Linked DNA regions of Homo sapiens: regions 2, 3 and 4 are each linked to region 1. The links are contacts of gene promoters, found by promoter capture Hi-C in blood cells and fetal thymus (Javierre and others, 2016). All regions are on one chromosome and are shown on one strand. Each heading gives the region's core, a stretch centred on a gene start or on the middle of the fragment in contact. The rest is flanking DNA. Distances are from core to core; before and after follow the strand shown.

Region 1 (4,121 bases), core at 612-3,111:
GTTGGATCATTTACTAACATGCTTTCCTTTGCAATAAATGGTTATTGACTTATCTAATAACCTTATAAGGTTTGTTCCAGCTCATATTTTCCTGATGATAACTTATAACTGTATATGGAATTCCTAGTGCAGACACTGGTTACAAATGAAACTGAAAACATAATGGAAATGATTGTTTTAAAATAAGCAAAAGAACATATATTAACATACACAATTGTATATTTGTTAGTTTTATTAACATTTTAAATTGTTTCTGTTAACTCCAAGTGACATTCATAAAAATCAGCTTATTTAAATCTCAAAATAAATCTCTTTATTCTTTTTTATTCACTTATTTTTTAACAAAGGTGTATACACATATAAATATACACATATACAAATATTCAAACACACACTTATATATGGTAATTGAAAAACACATTTCAATTATATATATATAGGTGAAGACAGAATTATCCTTTAAAGCTGTGTCTGCCTGTGGAAATGAAGTCAAAAGTTGGAGAGTAATTATCTAGATGACTCATGAAAAAGCTTTTTGTAGATAAGGTGGCTGACTTTTTAAGTGAGTAAATACAATTGGTAAGAGCACTTTATTATAAGTAAAATTTTCACATTTTCAAATCTGACCATCATCATAATCCTGAGACATGAGCAGGTAAGCTATATATAAACACCTCTGCTACACAATAATGCATATAAAGTTGAAATATACACTTCTTTTAGGAATTAAACTTCATTAGACCTGATTACTTTATATAAATAATTGGAAAATAATTAATAAAGCCTCAAGATTCCGGTTTATATTCAATATATTGTTTCTCTTCCTTACTTATGTGGTTGATGCCAATTTGTACATGCAAGTGTTTGTAGAAAGGCCATTCCTACTTTGAAGTTCTTACTGGAAAAGGAATATCCCCACTCCTTTCCCTGCTGATCTAGTGGAAAGGAATTGGGTGTTGGAGCCTGAGATTTTGTGTTAATATCCCAGATTGTCTGTTATTTGCTTAAACTTAACTTCTTTAAGCATGAGTTTCCCACCAATCAAATAGGAATAATAAGACCTAATGCAGACCATTCCCTAGGGCAGTCGGTCCTTAGCCTTCCATTGTTTCACCAGTTATCATAACAACATTCTGTTGTAGGCATTATTACTTTTATAATAATAATAAACTTCTGTTTTCATTTTAAAATGACAGATTTAAGAAAACACTCCGCACTTAATGCATACTTTTTATGTTTTAAATGTCAGGCTAGAGATTTTTCTAAAGATCTTTCTCTTTTGTAAAGAATGAATTCAGTTAAGACTTTTAAAGAAATATTTGAAGAGCAGCCATAATTTTTAAGTGCCTCTTGAACTATACGCTGTTTTCTTCTAGTTGCAGATAAAGCAGTCTCCCGATTAGGAATGGGATGCTGGTCATCCCTGCTCTCATTTGATGCCAATGGCAGAAATAAGTAATAAGTTACAATGCTCCTTCTCTCAAAATTTAGAGGTAACTTCAGAATACTTCTCAATAATTCACTCCAGGAAGCCACTAGTAAATGATCAAAGCTGGCACTTGATATGAAAACTCTTTCTCTTCTCTACCACATATCCTTCCCCCATATTGAACCTCTTGTTTCTTTCAAGTATTCTTTAAATTATCTCTATCACAATTCTGTCTGATATTTCAGTACTACCTTCAATAATTTCTAATTTATGTTCTCAATGACAACAGAAGCACTCAATAATTTTGCACTTGGATGTACCAACTTGTTAATGACTATGATACCACAAATTGATCTGAAGCAAATTTTCCTTTGTCCTAATTGCAGACTATACATGATCCCTGTTGGAGCTTTCATCTTTTCCTTGGGAAACATGCAAAACCAAAGCTTTGTAACTGAGTTTGTCCTCCTGGGACTTTCACAGAATCCAAATGTTCAGGAAATAGTATTTGTTGTATTTTTGTTTGTCTACATTGCAACTGTTGGGGGCAACATGCTAATTGTAGTAACCATTCTCAGCAGCCCTGCTCTTCTGGTGTCTCCTATGTACTTCTTCTTGGGCTTCCTGTCCTTCCTGGATGCGTGCTTCTCATCTGTCATCACCCCAAAGATGATTGTAGACTCCCTCTATGTGACAAAAACCATCTCTTTTGAAGGCTGCATGATGCAGCTCTTTGCTGAACACTTCTTTGCTGGGGTGGAGGTGATTGTCCTCACAGCCATGGCCTATGATCGTTATGTGGCCATTTGCAAGCCCTTGCATTACTCTTCTATCATGAACAGGAGGCTCTGTGGCATTCTGATGGGGGTAGCCTGGACAGGGGGCCTCTTGCATTCCATGATACAAATTCTTTTTACTTTCCAGCTTCCCTTTTGTGGCCCCAATGTCATCAATCACTTTATGTGTGACTTGTACCCGTTACTGGAGCTTGCCTGCACTGATACTCACATCTTTGGCCTCATGGTGGTCATCAACAGTGGGTTTATCTGCATCATAAACTTCTCCTTGTTGCTTGTCTCCTATGCTGTCATCTTGCTCTCTCTGAGAACACACAGTTCTGAAGGGCGCTGGAAAGCTCTCTCCACCTGTGGATCTCACATTGCTGTTGTGATTTTGTTCTTTGTCCCATGCATATTTGTATATACACGACCTCCATCTGCTTTTTCCCTTGACAAAATGGCGGCAATATTTTATATCATCTTAAATCCCTTGCTCAATCCTTTGATTTACACTTTCAGGAATAAGGAAGTAAAACAGGCCATGAGGAGAATATGGAACAGACTGATGGTGGTTTCTGATGAGAAAGAAAATATTAAACTTTAAAAAATCCAAAGTTAAGAGTAAAAAAGGTCAAAATGGCCTTAAATAAAAACTTAATGAGATACATCTTTCATGGCAAGAGATAAAGTAATGCTAGAAAAAAATCATTAATGTGGGATCAGAAAACTTATGTGTCCACCCTCAGAAAGCACAAATATGCACCTCCTCAGTCACCTATATAGGCCTAGTCTTACCCCGTGACTCCAAGGGCTCACAACCAACTGCATATTGCACCTCCACTCCCTTCCACCTCTGCAAACTAAGCAAGACATTCTCTCTTTTCTAGGACTAGTGGTTTATTTTAGGCTCTGGGTTCCCTCCTTCACTCTACTTGCCAAACCGTTATACCAGGCGGCTAAAGGCCCTCTCCATGAGCCTTTAAACCCCACACAGCCTATTACCCAACATTTCCATCCTCCAGAAGGCTCTCACATCAGCCCCCATTCTCACTCTCCCAGACCTCACCAAACCTTTCTCCCTCTATACCGCTAACCAGCATGGAGTTGCAGTAGGTGTTCTAACCCAGTCTAAGGGACCCATCTTCCAGGTTGTTGCCTACCTCTCTAATCAGCTTAAAGCTGCAGTTCATGGATGGCTTGCTTGTCTCTGAGCTTGGCAGCAGCTGCTGTCCTCACTCTTGAAAGCCTAAAATGATCTCTCCATGCCAACCTAACAGTCGATTCAACCTGAAACATCAAAGACATGTTAGCTCACTGCTGTGTACTAAGTCTCATCTCTGCCCCACAGCTCTTCCAACTGTATGCTCTATTCATAGAAACTCCCCACATTACCATGCTAACCAGCTCCCATCTAAACCCAGCCATGCTCTTACCTGAAGCTACAACCACCCAAGACCCTATACAATTCGGTGTGAATGCTGCTCTTACATTTTTCCAAACATAACAGACCAACACCTTCCAGATGCCTCCTTTACTTGGTTTGTAGATTACCCAGTCCTGCTCTGTCTGCTACTCAGTATCACCCCAAGGTTCCCTCCAGCCACAGCCTTTTCCTACCCACCAAGCCTGGGGCCTGGTATCCAGGCAAGATTGGCAAGTAGACTTCACTCACATACTGCCCAATAAATGGTTCTACTATCTTCTAGTCTTTGTCTGTACTTTCTTCGGGTTGGTAGAAGTGTTCCCAACAACTTCAGAACATGCAAATGTCATCACACAAACTCTCATCATGCATATAACTCCCCATTTTGAACTCCCAACATGCATCCAATCCAATAACAGGCCCGCCTTTTATCAGCCAAATTACCTAAGGCGTCTCTACACCCTTCAGGCCTCAATCTTCAGGCAAAGTT
Region 2 (4,121 bases), core at 1,204-3,703, 800 kb before region 1:
GAAATTCCTTAATATAAAAACTAGAAAGAAGCTTTCTGAGAAAATGCTTTGTGATGTGTGCATTCATCTCACAGAGTTAAACCTTACTTTTGATTCAGCAGCTTGGAAACAATGTTTTTTTCCATTCTGTGAATGGACATTTGGGAGCTCATTGAGGCCAATGGCAAAAAAGCGAATATTCGAGGAAAAAAATTCTGAGGCAGCTATCTGAGAAAATGCTTTGTGATGTGTGCATTCATCTCACAGAGAGAGACGTTTCTTTTCACTAAGCAGTTTGAAAACACTGTTTTTGTAAAATATGAGAAGGGATATTTTGGACCACATTGAGGCCTAGGGTAAAAAGGAAAATATCTTCAGATAAAAACAAGAAAGAAGCTTTTTGAGAAACTGCTTTGTGATGTGTGCATTGATCTCACAAGGTAAATCTTTCTTTTGATTCAACAGTTTGGAAACACTGTTTTTGTCCATTCTGAGAATGGACATTGGGAGCTGTTTGAGGCCAATGTCAGAAATGCAATTATCCCAGGATTAAAAACTAGAAGGAAGGTATCTGATAAACTACTTTTGGATGTGTGCATTCTTCTCACAGAGTTAAAACTTTCTTTTCTTTCTGCAGTTTGGAAACACTGTTTTTGAAGATTCTCTGAAGGGATATTTGAGAACTCATTGAGGTCAACGGTGTAAAAGGGAATATCCCTGTATTAAGTAGAATGAATCTATCTGTGAAACAGCTTTGTGATGTTTGCGTTCATCTCACAAAGTTAAACCATTCTTTTGATTCAGCAGGTGGGAAACAATGTTTGTGTAGAATCTTCAAATGTACATTTGGGAGCATATTGATGCCTGTGGTGAAAAAGGAAATATCTTCCAATGAAAACAAGAATGAAGCTTTCTGATAATCTGCTTTGTTATGTGTGCATTCATCTCAGAGTGCTAAACTTTTCCTTTGATTCAGCAGTTTGGAAACACTGTTTTTGTCCATTCTGTGAATGGGTATTTGGGAGCTCATTGAGACCAATGGCAAAAAAGTGAATATCCCGAGGTATAAACTAGGAGGAAGCTATCTGAGAAACCACTTTATGATGTGTGCATTAATCTCACAGAGTTAAAACTTTCTTTTGATTCAGCAATTGGGAACCGCTGTTTCTGTAGGATCTACAAATGGACTTTTGGGTGCGTATTGAGGCATATGGTGAAAAAAAATCTTCAGATTAAAAGGAGGAATCAGCTTTCTGATAAACTGTTTTGTGCTGTGTGCGTTCAGCTCACACAGGTAAACCTTTGTTTTCATTCAGCAGTTTGGAAACACTGTTTTTGTGCAATCTGCAAAGCAATATTTGGGAGGGCATTGAGGCCTTTGGTGAAAAAGAAAATATCTTCATGTAAATACTAGAAAAACGGCTTTGTGATGTGTACATTCATCTCACAGTTAAACCTTCCTTTGATTCAGCAGTTTGGAAACACTGTTTTTCTCCATTCTACCAACGAACACTTTGGAGTGCTGGAGGCCTATCGTGTAAAAGGAAAATATCTTCAGATAAAAACTAGAATGAAACTATCTGAGAAACTCCTTTGAGATGTATGCATTCACCTGTCAGAGTTAAATCATTCTTTTCATTCAGCAGTTTGGAAACACTGTTTTTGTAGAACCTGTGAAGGGATATTTGAGAGCACGTCGAGGCATATGGTAAAAAAGAAAATATCTTCAGATAAAACATAGAAAGAAGCTTTCTGAGAAACTGCTTTGTGATGGGTGCATTAATCTCACAAAGTTAAACCTTTTATTGATTTAGCAATTTCGAAACACTGTTTTTGTCCATTCTGCAAATGTACTTTTCAGAGCTCATTGAGGCCAATGGCAAAAAAGCACATATGTCAGGAAAAAAACTGGCAGGAAGCTGTCTGTGAATCTGCTTTGTGATCTGTGCATTCATCACGTACAGTTAAACTTTTCTTTTGAATCAGCAGGTTGGAAACACTGCTTTTGTTGAATCTGAGAAGGGATATTCAGATAAAAACTAGAAAGAAGCTTTCTGAGAAACTGTTCTGTGACGTTTGTATTCATCTCACAGAGTTAAACATTTCTTTTGGTTCAGCAGTTTGAAAACACTGTTTTTGTCCATTCTGTGAGTGGACATTTGGGAGCTGATGGAGGCCAATGGCAAAAAAGTGAATATGCCAAGATGAAAACGAAATAAAGCTATCTGAGAAACTGCTTTGTGATATCTGCATTCATCTCACAAAGTTAAACTTCTCTTTTCATTCAGCTGTTTGGAAACATTGTTTTTGTAGAATCTGCGAAGGGATATTTGGGAATGCATTGTGGCCTGTTGTGAAAAAGAAAATGTCCTCTGATAATAACTAGAAAGAAGCTCTCTGAAAAACTGTTTGTGTTGTGTGCATTCATCTCACAGAATTAAGCCTTTCTTTTCATTCAGCAGTTTAAGAACCACTGTTTTTGTCCATTCTGTGAATGGATATTTGGGAGCTCATTGAGGCCAAAGGCAAAAAAGCAAATATCCCGAGATATAAACTAGAAGGAAACTATCTGAGAAACCATTTGTGATGTGTGACTTCATCTTGCAGATTTAAACCTTTCTTTTGATTAAGCAGTTTGGAAACACAGTTTTTGTACTTTGTGTGAATGGACACTTGGTAGCCCCTTGAGGCCCATGGTGCAAAAAAATACCTTCTTTTAAAAGAAGAAAGAGGCTTTCTGAGTAACTGCTTTGTGAAGTGTGCATTCAAATCACACAGTTAAACTTTCTTTTGACTCAGCAATTTGGAATGAACTGTTTTTCTACAATCTGCAAAGGTATGTTTGGGAGCACATTGAGACCTATGGTAAAAATGAAAATATCTTCAGAAAAAAGCTTGAAAGAAGCTTTCAGAGAAAATGCTTTTTGATGTGTGCATTCATCTCACAGAGTTAAAACTTTCTTTTGATTCAGCAGTTTGGAAGCACTGTTTTTGTCCATTTTGGGAATGGATATTTGGGAGCTCTTAGAGGCCAATGATGAAAAAGTGAATATCTCAGGATAAAAAGTTGAAGGAAGCTATCTGAGACAAGGCTTTGTGATATGTCCATTCATCTCATAGAGACAAACTTTTCTTTTCATTCAGTCATTTGGAAACACTGTTTTTTAGAAACTGCAAAGGAATATTTGGGAGCTCATTGAGGCCTGTGGTGAAAAAGAAAATGTCTTCAGATAAAAACTAGAAAGAAGCTTTCTGAGGAACTGCTTTGTGACGTGTGCATTAAACTCACACAGATAAAACTTTCTGTTTATTCAGCAGGTTGGAAACACTGTTTTTGTGGAATATGTGAAGGGATATTTGGGAGCACATTGAAGACTATTGTCAAAAAACATATATCCTCAGATAAAAACTAGAAAGGAGCTTTCTGAGAAACCAATTTCTGATATGTGCATTCATCTCACAGAGTTAAACCTTCCTTTTGATTCTGCAGTTTGGAAATGGTGTTTTGTACATTCTTCAATTGGACATCTTTGAGAGCATTGAAGCCTATGGTGAAAAAGAAAATATTTTCTGAGAAAAATTAGAAAGAAGCTTTCTGAGAAACTGCTTTGTGATATGTGCATTCATCTCACAGAGGTAAACCTTTCTTTTGATTCAGAAGTTTGGAAAAACTTTGCTGTAGAATCTGAAAAGGACATTTGGAGCACAGTGAGGCCTATGGTGAAAAAGAAAATACCTTCAGATAAAAACTTGAAAGAAGTTTCTGAGAAACTGCTTTGTGATGTGTGCATTTATGTCACAGGGTTAAACTTGGTTTTGATTCAGCAATTTGGAAACAGTGTTTTTGAAGAATCTGTGAATGGACAATTGGGAGCCCATTGAGGCCTATCTTGAAAAAGAAAAATCTTCAGATAAAAAGTAGAAAGAAGCTTTCTGAGAAACTGCTTCATGATGTGTGCATTTATCTCACAGTGTTAAACCTTTCTCCTGATTCCACACATTGGAAACATTGTGTTTGTAGAATCTGCAAATGGACATTTGTGAGCTCTTTGAGGCCAAAGTCAAAAAAGCGAATATTGCAGGGTGAAAAGTAGAAGGAAGCTATCCAAGAAACCAGTTTATGATGTGTGCATTCATATCAC
Region 3 (4,121 bases), core at 745-3,244, 680 kb after region 1:
GGTCCGAAGCATAGCTGGAACTTGGTCTCACATACATGAAGAGGATTGTCCCATAATAAATTGACACTCCAGTTAGGTGAGCTCCACATGTGGAGAAGACTTTTCTCCTCCCTTCAGCAGAATACATCTTCAGAATGGCCAACAGAATCAAACCATAGGAGATCAGAACAATCAGGATAGTGACCAGCTCGATAGAGCCCACAAAGTAGAAGAGTAGAAGCTGGTTTGTGTGAGTGTCAGAATAAGAAATAGCAAGGAGAGGAGGGATATCACAAAAGACACGCCTAATTTCATTGGCTCCACAGAAGGATAGGCTAAATGTAGCCACTGTATGTATAGTAGCATGTAAAATGCCAGCAACATAGGAAGCATTGATGAGTGGCATGTAGACTCTGGGTGACATGCTCACTGAATACAGGAGAGGGTTGTAGATGGCTACATAGCGATCATAAGCCATTGCAGCCAAGAGAAAGCATTCTGTGGTTCCAAAACTACAAGCAAGAAACACCTGTGCTACACATCCAAGGAATGAAATGACTTTATTCTTTGTCGTAAAATCTACTAACATATTTGGGGTAATAACTGAGGAATAGCAGGCATCCACAGAAGACAACATACTCAGAAAATAGTACATGGGTTTGTGGAGCTGGGAATCCCTAATGACCACTAAAATCAGTCCTAAATTTCCCATGAGAGTGAAGAGGTAGATTGCTAGAAACAGGAAGAAGAAGATAGTCTGCAGTTCAAGATTGTCTGTGAAGCCCTTCAGTACAAATAAGGTAACTTCAGTGACATTCTTCATGTTGAAATCTAGAACAAACTTGAAGATATGCATAAAGTTACAGTTCATATTATGACAAAAAGAATGAACAACACCATGACTCAAGGGGATGTTAACTGTGCTCTTGTATATACTGTACGACATATATTCAGCAGTGCATAATTCTCTAGTAGTGAATCAGAAGACAGTGACAAACTGGTCAGCCATGTGTTCATGCCACTCACTGCAGAATCAAATGGAAGAAATGGACGTTCATTAGTTGGCTGGACTTATTCTGTTTCTAAAATCATCAGGTCTACTGGTTAATTTACCACTGAATTGTATTAAGCTGTTTATATATTAAATAATATTAAAACACACAAAAATGAGTGGCTTAAACAATCTTTGGGCATCCAAATACACAAGAGACTGTATCAGGGGACAGAGCATTGGAATACAATACCAGAATTTTAGAACTTGTAGCAATTGTGCAAAATGATTTGCTATATCTACTTGTCTATAGAATGAGAACATTAATAGTTTGTTCACAAGATTGGAGTAAATATTGAAGGAAAATTGCATTAATAAAATATAATATGTAAAATAATTTTGATTATAGAATATGCTGAATTAAGTTGGTTCTACATTCTATCAAGATTAAATCCAATGAACAGTTATGATTTTTTTCATCTGCTCATTCAAATGTCTCTGAATTATTCTTTGGAGAATGAAGAAGTTTTGTGAATTACTTGATCATTTTATGCCAAAAATAAACATGCAAATTACCATGATTCCATTTTCTACATTACAATTGTCTTAATTTTGCTTTGTGCAAATAAGATACTTCAACCAAATTTCTTGTGAGACAGGCATTTCTACTAGATGCCAAAATAAGTTATATTGGGTAAAAATTAAGTTAATATTAGCACATAGTCAAAGATTCAGAGTTATAAAGAGAAAATCACTATGATTCTTGAAGATTTAATAATATAGAATCAACTTTTTAAATTAATGCAAATCTATTTTTATGAAACAAATTTTAATGGAAGGGAGAAAACTTTAAATATCGTGAATGTAATAACGAAACACTAAGTTTGCTAAATAACAGGCATTTATTTAGCACTTGCTGCAAGAACAGACATTTCTTGTACATTACCTTATTTCACCTTTATAGCAACTTTCATAGCTAACAATTTCCAGAGCCAAGATTCAATCCCAGGTTTCTCTCATTGTACATGAAATTTTTGCATTTTTTCATGGCCTCATAAATGGCTTCATTCTGCAACTGGAACACTCTTCCTCTTACCCCTCTGCTGACCTCAGGGAAATAAAGGTAAAGCAAAACATGATTCTCGATGTATTTGTATTTTTTAAGCCATTAAATCTAGAGAAACATAAAATAAGTAGCAATCTGAAGTGACTTCTAGATTATAAAGCCAGAAAATAAATTTAAAATAAGTATTGATTGTTTTCCTTATTACTTCAAAATACAAGACCCCAGATAAATGAATAAGTCAAATGTTTTTTTGCCCTTTGTTGATATTTATTGGTAAATTCATGACCTTTGAACTATCTTTATCTATAAGAAAAATACAAGCATATACTCTATTAGGAGCACTCTTATTTATCTCTATAAGTACAAATACAATATTTTCTATTTTTTATTGTTTTCTAGTAAGTGTTGGATTTTAATTCTTAGGCATAACTCTAAATAAATCATATTTTGATGAATACACTTGATTCACATATGTAATAGTCCAGAACTGAAGTGTTTAGTTCTTGGTGTTTAGCAGCTAAAAAGTTTAGTAAAAAAAAACATAGTTATTCTTGATATTGTAGGTTCTAGCTGCCGAAATATTCTTCAAATTATCTGAAATTTTCTCTTACCTGTGGAACAGCAAATGCAGATTTAGGTATTCTATGAATATGGCTAACTTAGATTGTTTATATCTTTGTAATTGACTGTTGATGAAATCCAAGGAGATGTCCCAAGGGGAATATGCCCCAATTATCTTCTGTTTCAAAATAGCACCATGATGATTTACTTAATAATAAAAAGTAAATGATTCCGGAATAAGGCACTGCATGCTCCTACTTATTGAATCAATAGAGTTCTTTGGCTTCTGTTTAAAATGTGTCAGATTTGAATTTCCCTGATGACTACTGATGTTGAACATCTTTTCATACATCTGAAGGCCATTTGTATGTCTTCTTTGGAAAAAAAATGTATTCAAGTCCTTTGCCAGTTTTAAAATAAGATTATTGTTATTGTGGCTATTGAATTTATATATTTTGATATTAATCCCCTATTAGATATATCATTTACAAATATTTTTTGTTTGGCTGATGGTTTTCTTCATTGTGCAGAAGATTTTGACTTTGACGTAGCCCTACTTGTCTAATTTTGGTTTTGTTACTTGGCTTTTTATGTCATTGCTTGTATTTTTATGTTACATCCAACAAGTTACTGCCAAGCTGAAGGTCCTAAAGTTTTTCCTTATGTTTTCTTCTAGAAATTGTAGTTTCAGGTTTTATGTTTAAATTTTTAATCCATTTTGGGTTGGTTATTTTATATGGTATAAGACAAGGGTCCAATTTAATTTCCCATTGTGTATTCTTGGCACACTTGTGAAAGATCATTTGACTATATACATGTGGGATTGTTTCCAGGCTCCCTATTCTGTTCCGTTGGTCTATATATCTGTCCTTATTCCAGTCCCATGCTATTTAATTACTGTAGTTTTGTAATATCATTGAAATAAAAAAGTATAATACCTCTAGCTTTGTTTTTCTTTCTCAAGATTCCTTTGGCTATTTGAAGTCTTTTGTAATTGCACATAATTTTTACGATGTTTTTTCTATTTCTGTAAAACCCAGCACTAGGATTTTGCAGGAAATGCATTAAATCTGAAGACCCCTTTGGGTAATATGGAGATTTTAATTATTGCAGATCAAAACCACAATGAGATATCATCACACACCTGTTATGGCCATTATTTAAAAAAAAAAAGTATTGATAAGAATGTGGAGAAATTGGAACCCTGGTGTACTGTTGACAAGAATATAAAACAGTGCAGCCATGATTGAAAATAGTATGGAAGTTCCTTGAAACATTAAAAACAGGATTACTATACAATCCTGAAATTCTGAAACCACCTTCGCAAAATTATGACAGTAAGAGAAATCTGCCATGACTGACTTCTTCTTGCTTCTATCATCACAGGCTGTCTGTCTTTGCTCATCTCTGGGCATGGACCAAATAACTTCGGGAGAAATTTAGTTTATAGTTTAAATGATAATAGTCCTTTGCAAAAACTAAACCACCTTTGTAAAACTAATCAAAGGCACCAAGTTAAGAGGA
Region 4 (4,121 bases), core at 859-3,358, 610 kb after region 1:
CAACTCCAAAAGAAGATATACTTATGACCAAAAAAATATTTAAAAATGCTCAACATCACTAAGTATCTGGAAAATGCAAATCAAACCACAATGAGATTACCTTACTCCTGCAAGAATGACCATAATTTAAAAATAAAAAAAAAGTGTTGGCATGAATGTGGTGAAAAGGGAACACTTTCACACTGCTGGTAGGAGTGTAAACTGGTACAACCACTTTGGAAAACAGTATGGAGATTTTTTAAATAAGTAAAAGTAGAACTTTCACTTGATCCAGCAATCCCACTCCTGGGTATCTACCCAGTGGAAAAGAAGTCATTATGTGAAAAAGACACTTGCACATCCATGTTTAGAGCAGGGAAATTAGCAATTGCAGTAGTATGTAACCAGCCTAAATGTCCATCAACCAACTAGTGGATAAAGAAAATGTGAGATCTATATATATATATATACACACACACACACACACACATATATATCTCATGAAATCCGAAAATCTGATTACTCATTGAAAATCTGATATATATAAAGAAAATGTGATATATATATGACAAAAAGTGGACTCATATAACCAGAATATGATATACATATCACATTTTCTTTATATATACCATATATATATCAAATGATATATATAGATATCACGTTTTCTTTATCTATATATATGTGTGTGTGTGTGTATATATATATATATGTATATATATATATGATGGAATACTACTCACTTATAAAAAGGAACAAAATAATGGCATTCACAGCAACCTGGATGGAGCTGGAGACCTTTATTCTAAGTGAAGTAACTCAGGAATGGAAAACCAAATATCATATGTTCTCACTTATAAGTGGGAGCTAAACTATGAGGATACAAATAGGTAAGAATGACATAATGTATTTTGGGGACACAGGGAAAAGTGTGCAGTGTGGGCGAGGGATAAAAGGCTACACATTGAGTACAGTGTACACTGCTCAGGTGATGAGTGCACCAAAACCTCAGAAATTACCCCAATGAACTTATTCACATAACCAGAAACCTCCTACTTCCCAAAAATTATTGAAATAAAAAACAATTAAAAAAATTTGAAAATTGGAAAATTTATATACACATGAAAAATTATCAAGTGACATTAATCTATATTATATATTTATTATAACAATATTACAAATTGATTATTAAACACAAAGTTGACATCAATTCTCAAAGAGCTTATAGAAGGCATTTTTCACCTCTTCGTTTCTTAAGCTGTAAATCAAAGGGTTAAGCATGGGGATTACTAAAGTGTAAAACACAGAAGCCATTTTATCAGTATCAAAGAAGTGAGTGGAATTGGGCTGCATGTACATGAAGAGTAGAGACCCATAGAACACAACCACCACTGTCAAATGGGAACCACATGTGGAGAAAGCCTTTTTCCTGCCCTCTGCAGAATGCATTTGACATATAGCTAACAAAATCAACATGTAGGACACTAAGACTATCAGAAAGGAGGAGATCAAATTAAATACAGAAAATAGTATGCTCAACAATTCTATTTCCTGTGCATTTGAGCAAAGCATAGGTAGCAAAGGAACATCATCACAGTAAAAATGACTGATGACATTAGAGCCACAGAAGGTCAATGTAAAAATCTTAATAGTGAACATCAGAGCCTGAAATGTGCTGTAGAGATATTGAATGCCCACCAGTACATGACACAGTCGCTGAGACATAATAACATAATAGAGCAGAGGGTTACAAATGGCCACATAGCGGTCATAGGCCATGGCTGACAGGATGAAAAATTCACTGATAATGAACATAAGGAAGAATGCCAGCTGTGCAGCACATGCATAATAGGAAATAGTATTTCGATCCACAACAAAATTTGCCAGCACCTTGGGACAAATGACAGTAGAATTACCAAGATCAACAAAAGCCAAATGTCTGATAGAAAAGTACATAGGTGTATGTAAGTGGGAGTCCAGTTTGGTCAAAATGATCATAGTTAGGTTGCCCACCACTGTGATTAGGTAGATGACGAGGAAGACTCCAAAAAGGGGAATCTGCAGCTCAGGCCGCCTTGTGAGTTCCATCAGAATGAATTCAGTTAGCACTGTTAGATTGTGTTGGCCCATTTAGTCCAGTTATCTCTTCTAGGAAGAAACAGTTGGGTTATTAGCTGTTCCATGTAGTGCTATTTAAACAAATTATAATATTTGTAGACAGAATAGATTGTTATTCACAATAGATAATAGAAACATTATTTCTACATTTGATTCAGAAATGAAATATAAAGCAAAATTTTCTACTTTCCTAAAAGAGGAATTCATGTAAAATACATGCACTGAAACAACATAGATTAAATAGTTTCATCAATATTTGAAGTATATCGGTTAATAACACAGCCATATAGGTATTATTACAAAAAGATTATGCTCTTTTCATCTGCACAATGGTATCATGATTTTCTTTTGTTCACTTCCACTTTTGTTGTAAAACTTTTCTGTAATTTTGATATTCTCAAAGACAGAGGTAGAGATGGCAATAAGATAATGAAGGTTAAGATTTGGGGTCCCTCATTTGCACTTCCAGGGTCTTGTGTGGGGACTTACGAATGCACGCAAAAATGATATATCTTTGTAAAATTTCAAATGTAAGATATAATAATCATGATCAATTAAGGCTGCTTTCTGTTTTCATTCCAACTTCTAGTATATCACACTTCAACTAATATCATAGTGACTTGACATTTCTGCAAGCATTGTGGGATCTAGCTAAAGAAGGATTGAGTTAATAATAGTTTATTTGATGTTCAATGGATATGTTTATATCATTCAGACACTATGATATTTATCACTGAATAATACTACCTATTCTGACTTAAGAATGTCTTCTAAGGATACTCTTGCCACCTGTATGCTGAGATGCATTTGGCATTTGATTAATTAACATACTATATTAATAAATTTTATATAGTTTGTGGCCATGGGTTTGTTTACTAATTACAATTTAAAGCTAATTTTCTATTCTAAATAAATATTCCCATTTATCTTTCAACTTGTATGTGTAATTTTATCTAAAAAGTCAAATTCTTCTAAGCTTCAAGACACATAATCTGGATCCACTTCTGCAAAAACATGATTTAAATCAATATTCAGTGATGACTATTTAATTATATGTACTTTATTTTCTGTAATAAAACACTGTGAAGATGGTAGGTTCTATAAATCATTTAAATAATTTGAGAATTTAGGACATCATATATTAGTGAATGACTTTTTTTCTGGAATTGTACAGTGGAGTATTCATGGAGATATAATACTGTAATTAAAACTATTTCAATGAAAAGTACTTCTCCCTTTATTTAAAAAATACACGGGAAGTCAATAAAAGAAAGTGGAACGTCCCTGATACAGATAGTGAAGATGTCTTAGCCTATTCCACTTAAATTCCCCTCTCCTTCAGTTTCCACTCATTGAAAATCTGGAACTCTGTGAGAGTGACTTTCAATTGGAATAGTAACGGAATTTTCCACAGATCTAATGTAGAATAGATTTATTATAATGTAATGGAATGTCAGCTTTAGCCTGCACATCCCTCAGGTAGAAAACTCTGAAAACCCACCTAAAGATCCAAAACTACAGTTTGGAGCAGGTGCAGTCCACAGCCACACTGTGGCATTTGGCAACACTTCTAGGTATCTGCTCATTAGTGGGAGACATTTTGCCAACTTCATCTATGGACTACAGATGTGGGAAGGGGGCAACAGTGGAGGTTAGTGACCCTCTTCCATTCCTTCTCCCTAAATGAAGCTGTCTGCTGTTTCTCCATTGAACTTCACCCCTCTTTTAGGTCTTTCTTTTCCCACAGATAAGAACCATGACTATTCTATTTCTAAAACTTTATCTTAAATTTGCAGTATTGCAGGAATTGCTCACATAGGGTTTTATGGTAGAATAGAAGATGCACTGAATTGCAAAGGAAATTCAGAATTCCAACATCAATCCCACCAATCTGAAGTCAATACTTTGCTTAAAATGGTTTTAGTTTTTATTCAGTCTATTTCCATTGTCACTGTCAATTATTATCTCCCTCTGAAGATTTCTCAATTTTGTATCCTACCTGTTTTTCTTATGGAAAAAAGTAT

What was found. The method cuts DNA at HindIII sites, captures the fragments that hold promoters and counts their contacts. A CHiCAGO score of 5 or more calls a contact.
Region 2: a contact is called between a fragment that was not itself captured here and the fragment with the promoter of OR4C15 in region 1, in 7 of 17 cell types (endothelial precursors, megakaryocytes, erythroblasts and 4 more). The highest score is 12.5, in endothelial precursors.
Region 3: the fragment with the promoter of OR5T2 here is called in contact with the fragment with the promoter of OR4C15 in region 1 in 8 of 17 cell types (activated CD4 T cells, neutrophils, M2 macrophages and 5 more); the score reaches 7.8 in activated CD4 T cells.
Region 4: the fragment with the promoter of OR8K5 here is called in contact with the fragment with the promoter of OR4C15 in region 1 in 12 of 17 cell types (total CD4 T cells, naive B cells, M2 macrophages and 9 more); the score reaches 9.6 in total CD4 T cells.

Annotation. Positions count from the first base shown.
Region 1 is chr11:55,552,608-55,556,728 of GRCh38, forward strand. It overlaps OR4C15 (olfactory receptor family 4 subfamily C member 15), which reads left to right and starts at 1,862. Exons shown (of 1, transcript NM_001001920.3): 1 at 1,862-2,812. The coding sequence starts at 1,862. The coding sequence ends at 2,812. The HindIII fragment of the contact is 1,344 bases long and covers 530-1,873 here.
Region 2 is chr11:54,750,379-54,754,499 of GRCh38, forward strand. No RefSeq gene overlaps it. Among named protein-coding and RNA genes, the nearest start is that of OR4A5, 46 kb to the left of the region's middle. The HindIII fragment of the contact is 844 bases long and covers 2,032-2,875 here.
Region 3 is chr11:56,232,261-56,236,381 of GRCh38, forward strand. It overlaps OR5T2 (olfactory receptor family 5 subfamily T member 2), which reads right to left and starts at 1,995. Exons shown (of 2, transcript NM_001004746.4): 1 at 1,917-1,995; 2 at 1-1,004. The coding sequence starts at 802. The HindIII fragment of the contact is 5,726 bases long and covers 1-4,121 here.
Region 4 is chr11:56,158,209-56,162,329 of GRCh38, forward strand. It overlaps OR8K5 (olfactory receptor family 8 subfamily K member 5), which reads right to left and starts at 2,109. Exons shown (of 1, transcript NM_001004058.2): 1 at 1,186-2,109. The coding sequence starts at 2,109. The coding sequence ends at 1,186. The HindIII fragment of the contact is 6,274 bases long and covers 1-3,071 here.